6 separate regions of the Homo sapiens genome follow, and regions 1, 2, 3, 5 and 6 are each linked to region 4. Evidence: promoter capture Hi-C in 16 types of primary human blood cells and fetal thymus (Javierre and others, 2016). All regions are on one chromosome and are shown on one strand. Each heading gives the region's core, a stretch centred on a gene start or on the middle of the fragment in contact. The rest is flanking DNA. Distances are from core to core; before and after follow the strand shown.

What was found. The method cuts DNA at HindIII sites, captures the fragments that hold promoters and counts their contacts. A CHiCAGO score of 5 or more calls a contact.
Region 1: a fragment that was not itself captured here is called in contact with the fragment with the promoter of SOCS6 in region 4 in 4 of 17 cell types (M1 macrophages, M2 macrophages, M0 macrophages and 1 more); the score reaches 8.7 in M1 macrophages.
Region 2: a contact is called between a fragment that was not itself captured here and the fragment with the promoter of SOCS6 in region 4, in 3 of 17 cell types (M1 macrophages, M2 macrophages and M0 macrophages). The highest score is 7.9, in M1 macrophages.
Region 3: a fragment that was not itself captured here is called in contact with the fragment with the promoter of SOCS6 in region 4 in 3 of 17 cell types (M1 macrophages, M0 macrophages and M2 macrophages); the score reaches 11.4 in M1 macrophages.
Region 5: a contact is called between a fragment that was not itself captured here and the fragment with the promoter of SOCS6 in region 4, in 2 of 17 cell types (M1 macrophages and M0 macrophages). The highest score is 5.8, in M1 macrophages.
Region 6: a fragment that was not itself captured here is called in contact with the fragment with the promoter of SOCS6 in region 4 in 2 of 17 cell types (M1 macrophages and M0 macrophages); the score reaches 5.9 in M1 macrophages.

Annotation. Positions count from the first base shown.
Region 1 is chr18:70,388,895-70,391,594 of GRCh38, reverse strand. No RefSeq gene overlaps it. Among named protein-coding and RNA genes, the nearest start is that of LINC01910, 5.7 kb to the right of the region's middle. The HindIII fragment of the contact is 4,847 bases long and covers 1-2,700 here.
Region 2 is chr18:70,190,081-70,192,955 of GRCh38, reverse strand. RTTN (rotatin) reads left to right here. Exons shown (of 49, transcript NM_173630.4): 9 at 2,237-2,418. Among named protein-coding and RNA genes, the nearest start is that of RTTN, 14 kb to the left of the region's middle. The HindIII fragment of the contact is 5,665 bases long and covers 1-2,875 here.
Region 3 is chr18:70,369,272-70,371,971 of GRCh38, reverse strand. No RefSeq gene overlaps it. Among named protein-coding and RNA genes, the nearest start is that of LINC01910, 14 kb to the left of the region's middle. The HindIII fragment of the contact is 1,981 bases long and covers 350-2,330 here.
Region 4 is chr18:70,287,517-70,290,367 of GRCh38, reverse strand. SOCS6 (suppressor of cytokine signaling 6) reads right to left here and starts at 1,323. Exons shown (of 2, transcript NM_004232.4): 1 at 1,278-1,323. RefSeq lists a silencer at 588-1,487. The HindIII fragment of the contact is 7,416 bases long and covers 1-2,270 here.
Region 5 is chr18:70,352,576-70,355,440 of GRCh38, reverse strand. No RefSeq gene overlaps it. Among named protein-coding and RNA genes, the nearest start is that of LIVAR, 16 kb to the right of the region's middle. The HindIII fragment of the contact is 740 bases long and covers 1,208-1,947 here.
Region 6 is chr18:70,173,642-70,176,341 of GRCh38, reverse strand. The region is part of intron 11 of RTTN (rotatin); the gene reads left to right. Among named protein-coding and RNA genes, the nearest start is that of RTTN, 31 kb to the left of the region's middle. The HindIII fragment of the contact is 646 bases long and covers 1,107-1,752 here.

The DNA.
Region 1 (2,700 bases), core at 105-2,604, 100 kb before region 4:
AGAACATGAAACCCCGTCTCTACTAGAAAAAAAAAATGGAAAAAATTAGCCGGGCGTGGTGGCGGGCGCCTGTAGTCCCAGCTACTCGGGAGGCTGAGGCAGGAGAATGGCGTGAACCCGGGAGGCAGAGCTTGCAGTGAGCCGAGATGCGCCACTGCACTCCAGCCTGGGTGACAGAGCAAGACTCCGTCTCAAAAAAAAAAAAAAAAAAGAAGAAGAAAGAATTTTAAAGTAATACTGTGTGCTAAAGTACAGAGAGAGCAATATTCTAACGTGCAGGTGCGTGCAAAAACAATGCAGAATATTGGGCTAGTGCTAAAGAGAGACAGAGAAGTGACTGTAGCAGTGTCTGACAGACCTCTTACCTTATTATTATAAATACATAACAATATTTTTCCAATAAATCACAAAAATGGCTGGGCCAGCTGCAGTGACTTACGCCTATAATCCGAGCATTTTGGAAGGCCAAGGCAGGAGGACTGCTTGAGGCAGGATTTTGAGACTGGCCTGGGCAACATAGTGAGACCCTGTCTCTACAAAAAAAAAAAAAAAAAAAAAAAAAAAGGGTATAAAGTGCCAAGATACAATTCACGGAAAAAAAATTTTAACCATTAGATTCATTTTTTTCTAAAAGCAAAACCTCTGATAAATACTTGACATGCCTTAAGAAATACCGTGAAGATAATTCATCAATTAAATGTTTGAAAACATAGTAAAGCCATCATCAATCTGGAATTAATTCTGAGTGACTCAGAACTAGTTGGGACTATGAACATGGTGGAATACTAAGATGAATGTGAAAATGTCATATCAGAATATCACAGTTTAAACTAGAGCTACTTAAGTCTTTATGTCTCCCTAGACCATATCAGCATGGACATTCATGGAGGCACAGGAATAATAAAATTCAGCTGTCCCCACCTCTGTCTCCTGCCCTTGACATTACTAGGATTACTAGGTTCTTTCTTTTTTCAAGCTGTTCCATGGGTTGATTCACTTGTCACCCAAACATCCATGACTTCATTTCATGTTTGGTGGTTAAATGTGTTGTTAAACATTTGCCGATAATTTTTAGCTGTCCAAACTCTAGAATTACATGTGCAACATTTGGCTCTGAAACTCCTGCTTGGCAACCTTAAATCACCACCAAAAACAAGTCAGCCAGTTCACATATTATGGCTTCTGGGCAACGAAAAGATAGACAGGTAGAATCTGGAGGATGTCCAGCCTAGGACGTCTTAATTTCAAAAAGGTATTTAACATGGTAATGCATTAAGGTGCACTTAAAGCCACATGGACAAATCCACCCAGTTAGTGTTAATCAGCCAGAGAAGTGAGCCAGAATTCTGTACTCAAGCCCATCCTGCTCAGAATTTCAGTTAATGACTTAGATGAAGATTTACAGGATGATTATGTCAAATTTGCAAAGGAAGCAAAAATCAAGGCCTGGCGCAGTGGTTCACGCCTGTAATCCTAGCACTTTGAGACCAAGGCGGGTGGATTACCTGAGGTCAAGATTTCGAGACCAGCCTGACCAACATAGTGAAACCCCATCTCTACTAAAAATACAAAATTAGCTGGGTGTGGTGGCACATACTTTTAATTCCAGCTACTTGGGAGGCTGAGGCAGGAGAATCTCTTGAACCCAAGAGGCAGAGGTTGCAAGGCTGAAGTGAGCCGAGATCGCACCATTGCAGTCCAGCCTAGGCAACATGAGTGAAACTCAATCTCAAAAAAAAAAAAAAAAAAAAAAGGCCAGGCGCGGTGGGTCACACCTGCAATCCCAGCACTTCGGGAGGCTGAGACAGGCAGATCACATGAGGTCAGGAGTTCAAGACCAGCCTGGCCAACATGGTAAAACCCTGTCTCTATTAAAAATACAAAAATTAGCCAGGCATGATGGTGGGTGCCTATAATCCCAGCTACTCAGGAGGCTAAGGCGGGAGAATCGCTTGAACCTAGGAGATGGAGCTTGCAGTGAGCCGAGATCATGCCATTGCACTCCAGCCTGGGTGACAGAGCAAGACTCCATCTCAAAAAAAAAAAAAAAAAGAGAGAGAAGTATAGAGGAAGGCACCCGAACCAACTGTACCTGGAGAGAAGAAACTGAGGGACAAAAACTAGCAATAGAAATGCATTATTATTAATATTTAGCAGCAATAGTAGTGATAAGAATAGTAAATATTAGTGATTAAAATAGGAATAAAGGTAAAGTAGAAAATTTAAGGTAAAAATATTCAATTGCATAAAGACAAAACTTGAAGAAAACTAAAAACTTACATTTTTTTAATGTAGGTTTAAAATTAACTACATATTACTCAGGAATGGAAAACCCCATAGTGTGTCCTCACTGATATGTGGGAGCTAAGCTATGAGGACAAAAAGGCATAAGAAAGATACAATGGGCCGGGCACGGTGGCTCATGCCAGTAATCCCAGCACTTTGGGAGGCCAAGGTGGGTGGATCACCTGAGGTCGGGAGTTCGAGACCAACATGACCAACATGGAGAAACCCCATCTCTACTAAAAATACAAAATTAGCTGGGCGTGGGTGGCACATGCCTGTAATCCCAGCTACTAGGGAGGCTGAGGCAGGAGAATCACTTGAACTCGGGAGGTGGAGGTTGCGGTGAGCCAAGATCGCGCCATTGCACTCCAGCCTGGGCAACAAGAGTGAAATTCTGTCTCAAAAAAAAAAAAA
Region 2 (2,875 bases), core at 208-2,707, 98 kb after region 4:
TTCAGTTCCGATTTCATTAGAAAAGAAATGATTCTGACCCAATAAATTGTTTTTACCAGCTGCAAACGGAATATGATCAAGTTTAAAAGAATAGCTTTAAATGATAGATACATTGTTGATAGTATTTTACACATATTTTTGTAAGTCTTATAACAAATGGATAAGTGTTTACTGTTAAAAGGAATGGTTGGAGAATTTTATAAAATAAGGACTCCTTCAAGGTGAACAATTTATGGTATTTGTTTGTGTAAATACAGATTTTTTTCTTTTTTTTTTTTTTTTTTTTGAGACAAGGTCTCACTCTCTTGCCTAGGCTGGAGTGCAGTGGCACGATTATAGCCTTGACTTCTGGGCTCAAGTGATCCTTTCGCCTCAGCCTCCTGAGTGGCTGGGACCACAGATGTGCACTACCATACTTGGCTAAGCCTTTTATTTTTTGTAGAGATGGGGTCTCACTATGTTTCCCAGGCTGGTCTCGAACTCCTGGGCTCAAGTGATCTTCCCATCTTGGCCTCGTAAAGTGCTGAGATTACAGACATGAGTCACCATGCTTGGCCCCCAGTGCTTGGCACCCAGATTTTCATACACCAACTCTGCTTAAAAGGATTGGTGTGGTATTTGTATGTTACCTTATCCTTGGGTGCAAATGTGTTAGAAACATATTAGTCTCTTTAGTGTCATTCTAAAAAATGTTCACTAAGTTAAGCATTGGTCTGTTGGCTTAATTATTTTCTTGCAATACTGCTACTACTGTTAACAAGCTAATACTGATTCATACCTGCTGTGTGTATGGTGTTATGCCCTGTGCTTTGCATACTTTGTCTCCTTTAGTTGTCCTAGAATAGGATTGATATTATATATAGCATTAGTATTATTATTATCATCCTCATTGAGGTTTAGAGAGGTTAAGAGCATAACAGTTGGTAAAGAGCAGAGCTAGGGTTAAATAAAATGATAGGAGAGTCTATGCTCTTAGTCCTTATATTGTAGTTGGTTGTTCAGCCATGTTTTTCTCTTTCTCCTGAAGCCTTTCTGCCTCATTCTCTTGTGTGCTTCATGCTTCTAAGTTTTCACTCCTGAGTGAACAGCTTCCTCACTGAAACTTCCTTTCAGAGTTACAGAGAAGCCCGAGTTGTTTCCATATTTTGGGGTGCTTGGTATCTTGAAATTGAAGAAACGACAAAGTTGGTTTATAATTTGGGCAAATTTAAATGTTCCATAGCATTAATATGTCTCTTGTGATCCAGCTTCGGTTGTGGATAACATCAAAAGACAAAATTTTGAGGCTCTTTGTAAGTGTGAGGCTCTAGCCTTTCTACACTTTTTAAATCCTTACTCCAGCACTTTACATCCGAGGTAAGAACTTTTTAATGAAGAAAGCCAAGGACAATGGGATGTTCCGTTTTTTTGGGTGCATTTTTGAAGTCACTACATGATGTCGAATGTACTAAGTGAAGTAATACATTTCCCATGAGGTTTTTCTAGAAACATCCTTCATTTACTAACACTGGCTTACTCAGAACAGTGGTGAAACTCAGAAAATCTAGGAAACGGTATGAACTATTGGTTTTGTCTCTACACGTTGATTACAGAAGAGCTTTCCTATAAATCTGCTTATTTCCTTTTGGAAATGAATGGGTTATCAGTGCTAATATTGATTCCTACTATAGGAATGTTGACATGTTTTGAGATATCAGCCTGACAAGCAAAATATAGATGCATTTTTGGCTTCATTTACAATTTAGAGTCTTTTTTTTTTTTTGAGATGGAGTCTTGCTCTGTCGCCCAGGCTGGAGTGCAGTGTCGCTATCTCAGCTCACTGCAACGTCTACCTCCTGGGCTCAGAAGATTCTCCCGCCTCAGCCTCCCCAGTAGCTGGGATTACAGGTGTGTGCCACCATGCCCAGCGAATTTTTTTTTTTGTATTTTTAGTAGAGGTGGGATTTCACCATGTTGGCCAGGCTGGTCTTGAACTCCTGACCTCAGGTGATCTGCCCGCCTTGGCCTCCCAAAGTGCTGGGATGACAGGCATGAGCCACCACTCCTGGCCTTGAGTCATCTTTATGGAATTTAATTTCGTAAATTTGTCAAAGTTTCTACAAATCTGACCAGAGTTGAATGAAGCAGTAGAGTTGTGACTTGTATGAGGCTTCTAATATGCGAGGCAGCAGATATGCAGTAAATCTGTTTGGGGATTGTTTCTGTATGCAAGGTTTATCATTTGTTTATCTTGCAGTGGAAGTAGTAGTCATGCTCATGTAAACTCCAGGATATCCGTTCATTCACCTTTGGATATGGGACACATAGATCTGCCAGAGCTGGAAACTGAAGACACATTGGAACTACAATTCCAGCAGCTCAGTCTTCCCCAGTTTTGTGTCTCCATTCTGGAATCAGCTGTTCCTCTCTTAAGAACAGGTTAGTTGTTTTAGAAATCGTAATTCTGATATAATTTGTGTCTGTTTTGTATTTCGTTAGGATTTTCCTTTTTTTCTCTTCTATGTTAGGGCCTTTGGAATCTGTATTTACTTATCTTTTGGGATATAAATTTCTAAAAACCTAATAAGGTCTTTATTATTTTTAAATTAAATGTGGATGCCTTGGAGGGCTATTCAGCTTGCCCTTCCATTTTATGAGTTTTTATTGGCACAGGCTTTCATGCTTATTTTTTTTTTAGAATTTTTATCTATTTTTTGCATTTATTCTTGCTGTCATCTATTTTTTTCTTTTTTTTTTGGACTGTATGGCTATTTTAAATTTGAGCAGTGACAACATTCAGCAACTGGAATAAGGTATAAAAGGTGGACTGGCATGAATAGACCAGAATAAAAAAATCTTTGGCTTTTGCTCTTTGGAAACTTTTTGATTAGCTGTC
Region 3 (2,700 bases), core at 91-2,590, 82 kb before region 4:
CTCAATTAAACTCTGTTAAATTTAATTTGGCTGAAGCTTTTCTTTTCTTTTCTTTTTTGAGACAGAGTTTCAACTCTTGTTGCCCAGGCTGGAGTGCAATGTCACGATCTCAGCTCACCGCAACCTCCGCCTCCAAGGTTCAAGCAATTCTCCTGCCTCAGCCTCCCGAGTAGCTGGGATTACAGGCATGTGCCATGACGCTCAGCTAATTTTTTGTATTTTTAGTAGAGACGGGGTTTCTCCATGTTGGTCAGGCTGGTCTTGAACTCCCGACCTCAAGTGATCCACCCGTCTTGGCCTCCCAAAATGCTGGGATTACAGGCGTGAGCCACCGCACCTGGCTGAAGCTTTTCTTTTAACATCCTCCATCTCCCCTACTTCTGGGCTACCTTGTTCACCTGCCTCCACATCCAGACGTCATTCAGAAGTGATGACTCACTCTCTCTTTGATCATCTGAACTCCTGTAGCAATTTATCTCTTAGAGTACTTCTTACTTTCAGTCTGGTATAACCTACTCCTATCCTCCAGCCCTGGAGGTACCTCCAGGTGTTTCTAGGTGTTCTCAAAAAAGGAACCACTTGTACTTACAATGGAGCCTACTGTCAGCAGCTCCCTCAGGCAAGGCACCCCCTCCCCACCTAAAGCAGGACTCTTCTTGGCTCAGGGTTCCTTGCTCTGTCCCCAGGCGGCTGCATCAAAGTGGCCAGAAGAAGCACTTCCCCTTTGATCCATTCATCCAGGGGCTAACCCTGTACCACTTGCTACTCTGGCCCTGGGGATACATTTGTGATCACAACCAGAAGAAAATTCCTACCTGAAGAGCTTTCATTTAGTAAAGAGTCAGGTAATAAATATAAGAATAAAGAAAATACGTAGTATGTTAAAAGACGTAAGTGCTATGAAGAGTAGTAAACCAGGGTAAGAGGATGGAAATGCCTTTGGGGGTAGGAGGAGTTGCAATTTTAAGTCAGTGGTCAGGGTGGACCTCTCTGAGATATTTAAGCAGGAGTGGCAGGAAGTGAGAGAGCTGGCCAAGTGGATATGCTCCAGGGAAAGGGAAGAGCTGATGCCAAGCCCTGCAAGGGAGCCCCTGGGTGTGGTGGAGGCCGGGGACATAGGGACAGTGGAGAACAGTATGGCCATGTGCACCCTGGAAGAACTGCTGCTCCAAGTTAACTAGGTAGTCATTGTAGGGTTTCAAGGACAGGAGTAACAGGACCTAAGTTTTAAAAGGAATCCCAGCACTTTGGGAGGCTGAGGAGGGTGGATCAGTTGAGGTCAGGAGTTCGAGACCAGCCCGGCCAACATGGTAAAACCCTGTTTCTACTTAAAATACAAAAAGTAGCTAGGTGTGGTGGCGGGTGCCTGTAATCCCATCTACTCGGGAGACTGAGGCAGAATTGCTTCAACCTGGGAGGCGGAGGTTGCAGTGAGCCCAGATCGCGCCACTGCACTCCAGCCTGGGTGACAGAGTGAGACACTGTCTCCAAAATAAATAATAAATAAATTAAATAAATAGGATGACTTTCCAGGCAGGAGTGCAATACCACTTGCACTGTGTGCTCAAGAATGTGAAATAAGACCCATCAACTGGTTGCAGGTTTTTCTCCAGCCATGGCCAGCTGTAAATGTGTAGGTAGAAGTAAGTGGAGGTTTGGATTTGCTAAGATGGAACAAAGAAGGGAGAGCAGTAAGGAGTCTGAGGGTGTAAGATCCTGCAGAGCACTCAGAGAATATTTTTTGGACCCCAGTGTGGGCTGTTAGGGCAACAATTCTTCCCACTTCTATTTTGATTCCTTTTTCCCCCTAGATCCAGACAAGTACTTTGACCCAGAGATGAAGTCTATCAAATTTCCAAGTGGTACTCAGAATCTCAATCTTCCTCTAATGATTACATTTTGTTGCAGATAAATATGTTCACTTTGCTGCACATGTTTAATTTTCCCTACAAGACTGCAAGTTTTGAAGGGAAGAAGCGCTAATTCTTATTCATCTGTTTCCTCTCAGCAGAGGGTCTCTCTGCACTGGAATCACTTGGCAGCTTTTACAAATCATGATGTCTGGGTCCACCCCTAGAGAATTGGCCTTGAGTGCAGCCTGGGGTACTGGGCTCTTAAGAAACCTCAGATAATTCTGATGGGCACCAAGGATGGAAGCCTCGAGACTATATTATAAAGCAATGTCTCACATATAGAAGGTACTTAATAAATAATTGTTGGGAAATATTAATGAATGGGCCTGGGAAACAGCTTCTCAGCTAGCCTCCTGAACTCAGGTATATTTTTCTCCAGTAAGTCATCTTAGACGCTCCCTTCTGCAAAACGAAGCTTCCTGGAATTCACATTAAAACTTCTGCCTCAAAAACATCCTGCATTTCTTTATCATCTGCAATAGTGGCTCCCACACTTTGGTCCACAGGCTGGACCATCTCAAGAACTTTAAAATATGGCAGGTTCTAGGGCTTCAAACCTCATGGAGTTTCTGATGTAGTCACTGAGAAGCCCAGAAGTCTGCATTCCTATCGGGCTCCCTTCAGGATCCTCATATATACTACGAGGGTGAGAATGCTCGATCTACAAGATAAAACCCAATCTCCTTCCCCGGTTGTCAGATTTCTCCACCATACATTCCTATCCGATTTACAATCCTTTATTTTTGTATAATTCCAACCCAAATCTTCTGCCACAGGAAAGGAAATT
Region 4 (2,851 bases), core at 74-2,573:
CTAAATGGATTTAATGTTGTGGTAGTTGGTTAAAAACAAGTCAAGATAAATTGCTACCTTCAGTGGTTGAGAAGATGTCAGATATTTTATCTTGAAGTAGAACGTTTACTTTTGTTTGATTCCAAATGTATCTTTATCCCAAGGAACACAGTAAATTTAAAATGTCTCTGGGAGACGTTCAGTGTGTAATTCACGTTATTTCTGTCATTACTGTGTTCTCTGTCCTCATGCACAGTGCATGCTGCCTTATCCGGGCAGACGTTGCAGAAACATTTGTTGAAATGAATTCAACATTATTTATTTTGCTACCGGAAGACTGAGTCCCGCCACATATTCCCACCTGGCCCTTCATTCCAAACAGTGGGGATGGGAACCCCAATTTCACATTCCAACTGAACGTTAAGTTGGCACACACACTACTGCACATATCCCAAGTTTTGTGCCAGGATCTGCCCCTGAGAAACGTCCATAATTCTGCTCCGTGAGCCACAAGGGTGTACCTGAAGTTGCCAACTCCCGAAGCAAACTGAAAATTCAGGCCCGTGTCGGTCCCAGGAGCGGTTTAAATTCCACAATCGTCCGGTCCCTACACCCGGGTGAGTGCGCAGCCGGCCGGCGGCACCTTCAGCCGCAGAGCAGCCCCGGCCTGCACCTCCACCAGCGCCGGCGCGACCTCGCGGTGGGGCGGGGGCGTCCCCGAGTCCCAGCGCCGCGCCCCAGGCCCGCCCTCGCGCCTGCGGCCTCGCCGCGCCCCGACCCCGAGCCCGAGCCCGAGCCCGCGGAGGTCCGAGGAGGGACCCGGCCGGGGCGCAGAGCCGCGCAGGCCCCGCGCCGCTGCCCAGGCCTCGCGGAGCCCCGGCCTCTCCCCGGCGAGCTGCGGGCAACAAAGGCGGCGGCCCAGGCCGGCGCGCCGCGGCCGAAGAGGCCGAGGGGTCGAGAAGAGCCGTCCGCGGCCGCGCAGGCCTCGGCCCTTCAGGGGCCGCCGCGCCCCGGCCCCGGCTTCCCGGTTTCCGCGTCCCCGCTCCCGGGACTGGCCCCGGCCCCCGTTCCCCGGCCCTGGCCCCCGCCCGCGCACCCGCCGAGACGGCGCAGGGCCTCGCGCTGACCCAGACCCGTCGCTGCAGCCCCGCGCCCGGCGGCCTCCCTGGCCCGGCCCGCGCCGGATCCGCCCCCTGCACTCCGAGGCGAAAACCAGCCGTGTCCCGGACCGCGGGCGACCCGGAGGCGGACGGCGAAGCCCTGCCCCTGCCTCCCGCCCGAGCTCCCCGGACGCTTACCCGGAGGCGGCCCGGCTCCGCTTCCTCGCCCAGCGCCGGCGCGACTGCCGCGCTCGCCTTCTCCTCTCGGCAACTCCTCCTCCCGCCTCCTTCCTCCTCCTCCTCCAGGAGGGGCGCGCGGCCGCGGCGCCTCGGCCCGAGCGGGGAGCGGGTGCGGAGGAGCCGAGCGGGCCGCCCCCCGTCCACTACTCGGGCCCGCGGCGCAGGCGGGGCGTCGGGGCGCGCGGGGCTGAGGCCGGGGGCCGCGCGGGGCGGGGCGGGGGCCGGGCACTAAGTGGGGGTTCCGAGGGGAGGGGCGCCGGGCCGGGGTCGTGGGGCGGACGGAGCGCGGAGCCCTGATCCCTTCCCCCACCCCCGCGCCCCTCCGCTGGTGCCTGCAGGAGGCCGCTCCTCCGGCCCCCAGAGTCCCTGTCCTGGTTTTTCCTTTGGTGCTTTCCCTCTGGCGGGGGTGGCCCCGGCTAACGCGGAAAGGAAAGTCTCCTCGTTCCCCGGCCCCGCGGATTTGGCGGCTGCGGTCCCTGTCCCCCTGTGGCGGGCGGTCGGACCCCCGCACTGCCCAGGTCCGCTGGGCTCGCGCGGGGACCCCGGCCTCGTCCCCGCAGGGAGGGGACCCCAGGACAGACGCGCGCGCACGCTGTGCAGAGCCACAAGTGGGGAAACCCTCCCCACACCTCGACTAAATTGTGAAAAATGCTTTTTAAAAAACCAAACATTCCTTGTTTCAAGCCATCCACTTTTCCATTTAGTCGTTTTCAGGGAGGTTTTGTACAAGGAATAGTTGTTTGTGCCGCCGAATTCCAAGGTAGTGTGGTATACAAGTTGCATGTTGGGATCTTGACTAATTTCTTTGGAAACTGGCTGAACATACTACTAATGTATAGCAGTACCACAAAAACTTGATTTTTGTGCATAAGAATCAATAGGAAAATTTGTATTTCTCTTACGATGAAAAGTGGTTAAAAAAATGAATATCATTAGTATTTCAGTAAAGCTTGGGGGGAGATAAATATTAAAATCTAATGAGAATTATTGTGGACTTTAAAAGTTGTGTTTCTTGAATAGTATGGACCTTTTTAAAAGAAAACCGAAAGGACAGAGAAAAAAGGGCTAGAAAAAAAGTCTAAAAAGCTGTTCAGGTATGAGTTGGTACCCGAATTATATCTCAATAAAGTTGTTAGTTACAAAAAAGTTCAAGTCCAGTAATCTTAATTCCTATGTCCAATATACAATCTGGATTTCCCCAAGAAATCTAGATTCATAACAGAAAAGTTGGATCTTTAGGTGATGCAAAGTTGATGTCATGTATCATACACTATCATTGTCATCTTCAGTTTTTACTTGAATTTATTAATAAAATACTACCATTATTGTTACCGTGATTGAAATGCAACACAATTCTCAAATATCTAATTACAGTGATTGGAGAATGTAGGTTGAAATAGAATTGTCAGAGAAGTTAGTGGGAAACACAACAAACAGTAATTAACGGTGGCTCATGCCTGTAATCCCAGCACTTTGGGAGGCCGAGGCGGGCGGATCACAAGATCAGGAGATCGAGACCTGCCTGGCCAACA
Region 5 (2,865 bases), core at 328-2,827, 65 kb before region 4:
TAAAGATTTACTTAAAAAGAAAACTGCTTCATATACTAATATCGGAATAAGATTTGGTAAAGTTCAATCATAACTCTTGGGACACAGACTTCTCCACATGATTGGCACAGAAGGAAAAGTGCCAATTCTGCTTTTTTGCTAATGTATTTGGTCAATTCCTGAGATAGTCATTGTGCTCTGTTTCACGAGGAGCAAAGTTTTTATGCTTTATAGCAGATCAAAGACTCTGCCCTTTTCCTCTAACTTTCCTGCTCAGCCAATTATTTTCCACTTTCTGTCATTTAGTGGTAAGCACACGCTGAGCAAGAACTTCCATATAGAAGCAGGCCTAGCTGCACTAAATATACTGGATGTACTGGCTTCTCTACCTACATCTTAAGGGGTAGAAAAGTTAACCACCTGTGTTCATATGGCTAGTTGTCATAATAAATGTAAAGAGAATGTCCCTCCCCATTTCTATTCTGGAAAATGGCAATTTATTTTATACCTAGCTCAACATCATTAAAACAGAGGCAATCATTTTATTAGGAACCTTGAAATAGTTGTCTTAAGCCCTTATCAGCACATGTGATAGGCCTGGACAGCTTACGGAATTAGGGCAACTAAGGAAAACTGAAGGTGTCTAACTGCTACTTAAAATACATGTTAATGTTTCTCATAATGCAGGTCTGAGGATAAATAAGTTTTCTCACCTTTTGTTTAACTATTTTACCCTCTTTTGGAAAGTTATTTTTAATGGAAATAGAATTCTGGGTTGACTTTTTCTCTTTAAGCTCATTAAAGATAGTCCGTTGTCAGCTGGGCACGGTGGCTCACGCCTGTAACCCCAGGACTTTGGGAGGCTGAGGTGGGAGGATCACCTGAAGTCAGGAGTTTGAGACCAGCCTGGCCAACATGGCAAAACCCTGTCTCTACTAAAAATACAAAAATTAGCCAGGCCTGGTGGCGCCCACCTGTAATTCCAGCTACTCGGGAGGCCGAGGCTGGAGAAGCTCTTAAACTGGGGAGGTGGAGGTTGCAGTGAGCCGATGTTGTGCCATTGCATTCCAGCCTGGACGACAAGAGTGAGACTCCATCACAAAAAAAAAAAAAAAAAAAAAAAAAAGTCCATTGTCTTTTGGACTCTATTGTTTCTGATGAGAAGTTAGCTGTCATTGTATTGTTGTTCCTCTGGAAATTATGTGTCATCCTCTCATTCCCAGAAGCTTATAAGGTTTTTCTCTTTAAATAGTCTGATTATGATGTCCCTAGGTATAGTTCTCTGCATTTATCCTGCTTGGGGTTTGTTGGCTGTCTGGGATTTGTAAATTATTATTTCACCAATTTTAGGTAATTTTTTATCTTTTTTCAAATATTTTATCCTTTTCTTGCTCTCCTCTTCCTGTAGGACTCCTATTTGAGTTTTGTTAGACTGTTTGATAACTTCCTAAGTATTACTGAGGCTCCTAATTTTTTCCAACCATTTCTTCTGTAGGTCTTCAGAATATAATTTCTATTGATCTACCTTCAAGTTGACCAACTCTGACAGTTTCAGTCTCCAATTTGCTGTTAAACCTATGCAATCAAGTTTTAAATTTCAGATAGAGTATTTTTTGGTTGTAGAGTTTCCACTTGATTCTTTTTGGGAGTTTCCATTTCTCAGCTGAGATTTCCCATCTGGGCACACTTCTATTGTCTTCTTTTTTCCTACAGTCTGGCCTGGGGTCCCTTGTTCCAGCTTTTTAGCATTACTGATAATTTTTTACTAGATGCTGAACATTGTGGATGAAAAATTTTAGAAGCTCTGAACTATTATTACCTTCCTTCAAAGAGGGTTAAGTTTTCTTGTTGAAGGAAGGCTAGGTAACGGATTCCTTTGAAACTTGGTTGTAGGCATTGTTAAGTCTGGCCTATTTAAGTTTTCCTTACTCTTCTGGCACAGCCACCCTGAGGTCTTGATTTAAAGCTTAAGTGCTTACCAACCCCACTCTACTTGAACTCCAGCAACTGTCTCCCCAGCATTTCATAGCTGCTAATGTCTCTGTTTGGCTCTTCAGCCTCCCTGCTGTTGTTTTCTTCTAAGATTCTTTTTTTAGGCTTTTTTTCTTTCTAAGGTTCTTGAAGTTTTACTCTTTGCATGAATATTTTAAGGGTCCAACAATGGCCAGGCGCGGTGGCTCACGCCTATAATCCCAGCACTTTGGGAGGCTGAGGCGGGCAGATTGAGGTCAGGAGATTGAGACCATCCTGGCTAACACGGTGAAACCCCGTCTCTACTAAAAATACCAAATATTAGTCGGGCGTGGTGTTGGGCGCCTGTAGTCTCAGCTACTCGGGAGGCTGAGGCAGGAGAATTGCTTGAACCCAGGAGGCGGAGGTTGCAGTGAGCCGAGATCTCGCCACTGCACTCCAGCCTGGGCGATGGGAGCAAGACTCTGTCTCAAAAAAAAAAAAAAAAAGAGTCCAACAATGGCTTGAGGGAAATTGTATGAAATTCCTTGTTTTTTGTTATTTTTTGTTGTTGTTGTTTGTTTGTGATTCCTCACTTTCTAAGGTTTTGTCCCTCAAGTTCAAGATACTTTGATAGCTCTACACACTGGCTGTTGTCCCTTTACTTGCTAAGACTGCCACTTTCAGCTTCAAGTCTTTTCATGCATGCTGCAGTTTGGAAAATGTGCTCGGGGAAAAACCAGGGTAATCGTGGAGCTTCCTCCCTGGGTTTTCTGTCTGGAGCACTGTAACCCATCAAGTCCCGCCTGCCTAAGTTGGCTGCTCCCCAGTGTTTTCTTTATGTTTCAGATGTAGTGTTTTAGGTGGGATGGTTAATCAGCTACAAGATGGCTTTTCACAGCCAGAAGTGGAAGTCATAATCTGACGTTTGATATG
Region 6 (2,700 bases), core at 180-2,679, 110 kb after region 4:
GATGTAAAACTGAATAGGTTAGAATTAGTCCCTGGCCTCATGGAACTTAGTTTTGTAAAAGACAAGACTTGGCTGTTATCTATACATATACATATACATATACATATACATATACATATACATATACATATACATATACATCTACATCTACATCTACGTATACATATACATATACATGTATATGTTTGACTTCTTTGGTTTCTTTAATAACTTTGGGATCACTTGAGGGAAGAGATTATGTCTTAATATACGAATACATTTTTCCATACATATATACATATATAATTGGTACACTTGTATCTTTTAATTGATTGGAGGGCATTGAAAGCCTACTGATCTTATCTCTGCAGTGTGTGTCTTGGTTCTTATCATTAATATCAAGAGTAGCCTTTCCTTCTCTTCAGCTAGGTACGTGTTGTCAGAGTTCTTTACTTATTCACTATTTCCCAGGTTCCTTGACACACAGAATACAAACAATAGTTTCCATTGCTGCTCCAGAAATTATTTTATAGTTAGCATATCTTAATGTCATGGAACCTTTTCTTTTTCTTGTTTTATCTATTCAAAATACTGTTAGCAGTGCTTTAGTTTCTAAGTATTGGTCAAGTTGGTTTCTGAGGACTGTCCTATTTCTTGTATTTGTTGTACTTTATGTATATTGCTGGTGTGTTGCATATTTTAGTAACTTAAGGGATTTTTTTTTTTTTTGGTCCCATGCATTTCTCTTGAAGGTATCCCACTATTTCCTTTCTGTCAGCAACTTAATTGCTTAATATTTTTATTTTAGCACCTGATCAAAAGAATTTCAGAAGTCATCTTTGGTAGGATTAAATATCCTGATTTTTATTTGATTCATCTAGTTAATATTTGGTAACTTGTTTTATGTCTAAACCATATTTGTAGTTTGAGTTACGTAATATATGATTTCATACCTTAGTATGTCTTTTGAAAGTTGTTTTTTTAATTAACGTGTTGCTTTAGGTGTCTTTCACAAAGCTGCTTTTCTGCCCATGATAGCAATAAACTATCTTCTGTGCTAGTCTTTATTCTAGTACTTTTCTTTTTCCTACTTTTCTATTTTACCTAGACCTTTCTTTTCTTAAGCTTTGGTGTTTTCAGTTTTTAACTTTTATTCAGAAAATAAAATGTTCATTTAAAAAACATTTTGATGTACAAAGAAGAATAAAAATTCATTTATAATTTCAAGTTAGTTTTGAGGCTTTTTTCTTTTCTGCTTTAAGTCCAATTGACAGCGTCTATAAAAGTTATTTATTCTTTTTTTTTTTTTTTTTTTTTGGTTTTGGTTTTGTTTTTGAGACGGAGTCTCACTCTGTCACCCAGGCTGGAGTGCAGTGGCACTTTCTTGGCTCACTGCAGCCTCCACCTCCCAGGTTCAAGTGATTCTCCTTCCTCAGCCTCCCAAGTAGCTGGGATTATAGGTGTGAGCCACCACACCCAGCTAATTTTCGTATTTTTTTTTTTTAGTAGAGACCAGATTTCGCCATGTTTGCCAGGCTGATCTTGAACTCCTGACCTCAGGTGATGTGCCCGCCTCGGCCTCCCAAAGTGCTGGGAGTACTCGCGTGAGCCACTGCACCTGGCCTGTTTATTCTCTTTTTTTTTTTTTTAACCATTTCTTATTATCTAACATACATTTTCCATTTAATTAAACACTTCATAAATTTTAATGGGTACTAATATTTTACCAGCAAGATGTTCTATGATTTCCACAAGTATTCCAGAAATTAAGCTTTTAGGTTTCTTTTTTTCTTTTTTTGGTATTTTGATAAATAACACTATGCTGAATTGCTACTTACGCATGTTTACTCATATTTTGGATTCTTAAATTCCTAGTGGCATTACTAGTTCAAAGGCTGAATGCTTAAACATGTTTTTATTATAAGCATAATTTAAAAATATTATAGTTTCACGAGTTTCATTGTTTTTAACTAAAGAATGGATAAAAAGAGTAGTACACGGAAAAGATAATTGTGAGAATATATGGCCGGGAAATTACTAAAAAGAAGCACTTTTTGAAAGTGCCTAAGGCTGGTGTCTCTTCTGTGTGTTTGCCAATTACAGTTTCTGAAATTGTGCACTGTTAGTTTAACTAGAACACTTAAATTTTTAAATGATTTTTAAAATGCTATCAGAAAAAAACATTAATTCTGTAAAGGCTTTTTTTTTTTTTTTTAAACTTTCATATACATTCAGAAAAGTACATAGTTCAGTGCTTTTTCTACTAAGTGAATGCATCTGTCTTTAAAAAGTGACCACCCCCATAACAGAAAATAGAATGTTACCAGCATTCCAAAGACCCCTTCTCTGTTACCTCTCCCTCCTTCTCCAAGCCACACTCCTTTCTGACTTCTGTCACTATAGATCAATTGGCCTGTTTTGAATGTTGTTTAAATGAAATTATAAAGTATGTACTCTCTCAACTCCTTCTTGAGGTTCATAACTATTGTTGCCTATAGCATTAATTTGTTAACTTTTATTACAAAATATTCCATTGTATGAAGTCTGTTAAAAGTGATTTTAATATGTGTAAATATTTCTTTAAAATCTTCTTACTGACTGTATTTTTAAACGTGAGGTTATCTCTGAATTTGAATGTTAGTGGTAAAAATATCTCAGATCATTCAGACATCAGTGTTTCGTGGTGTACTTATTACCAAAACAAAGGAGTGACACACTAAA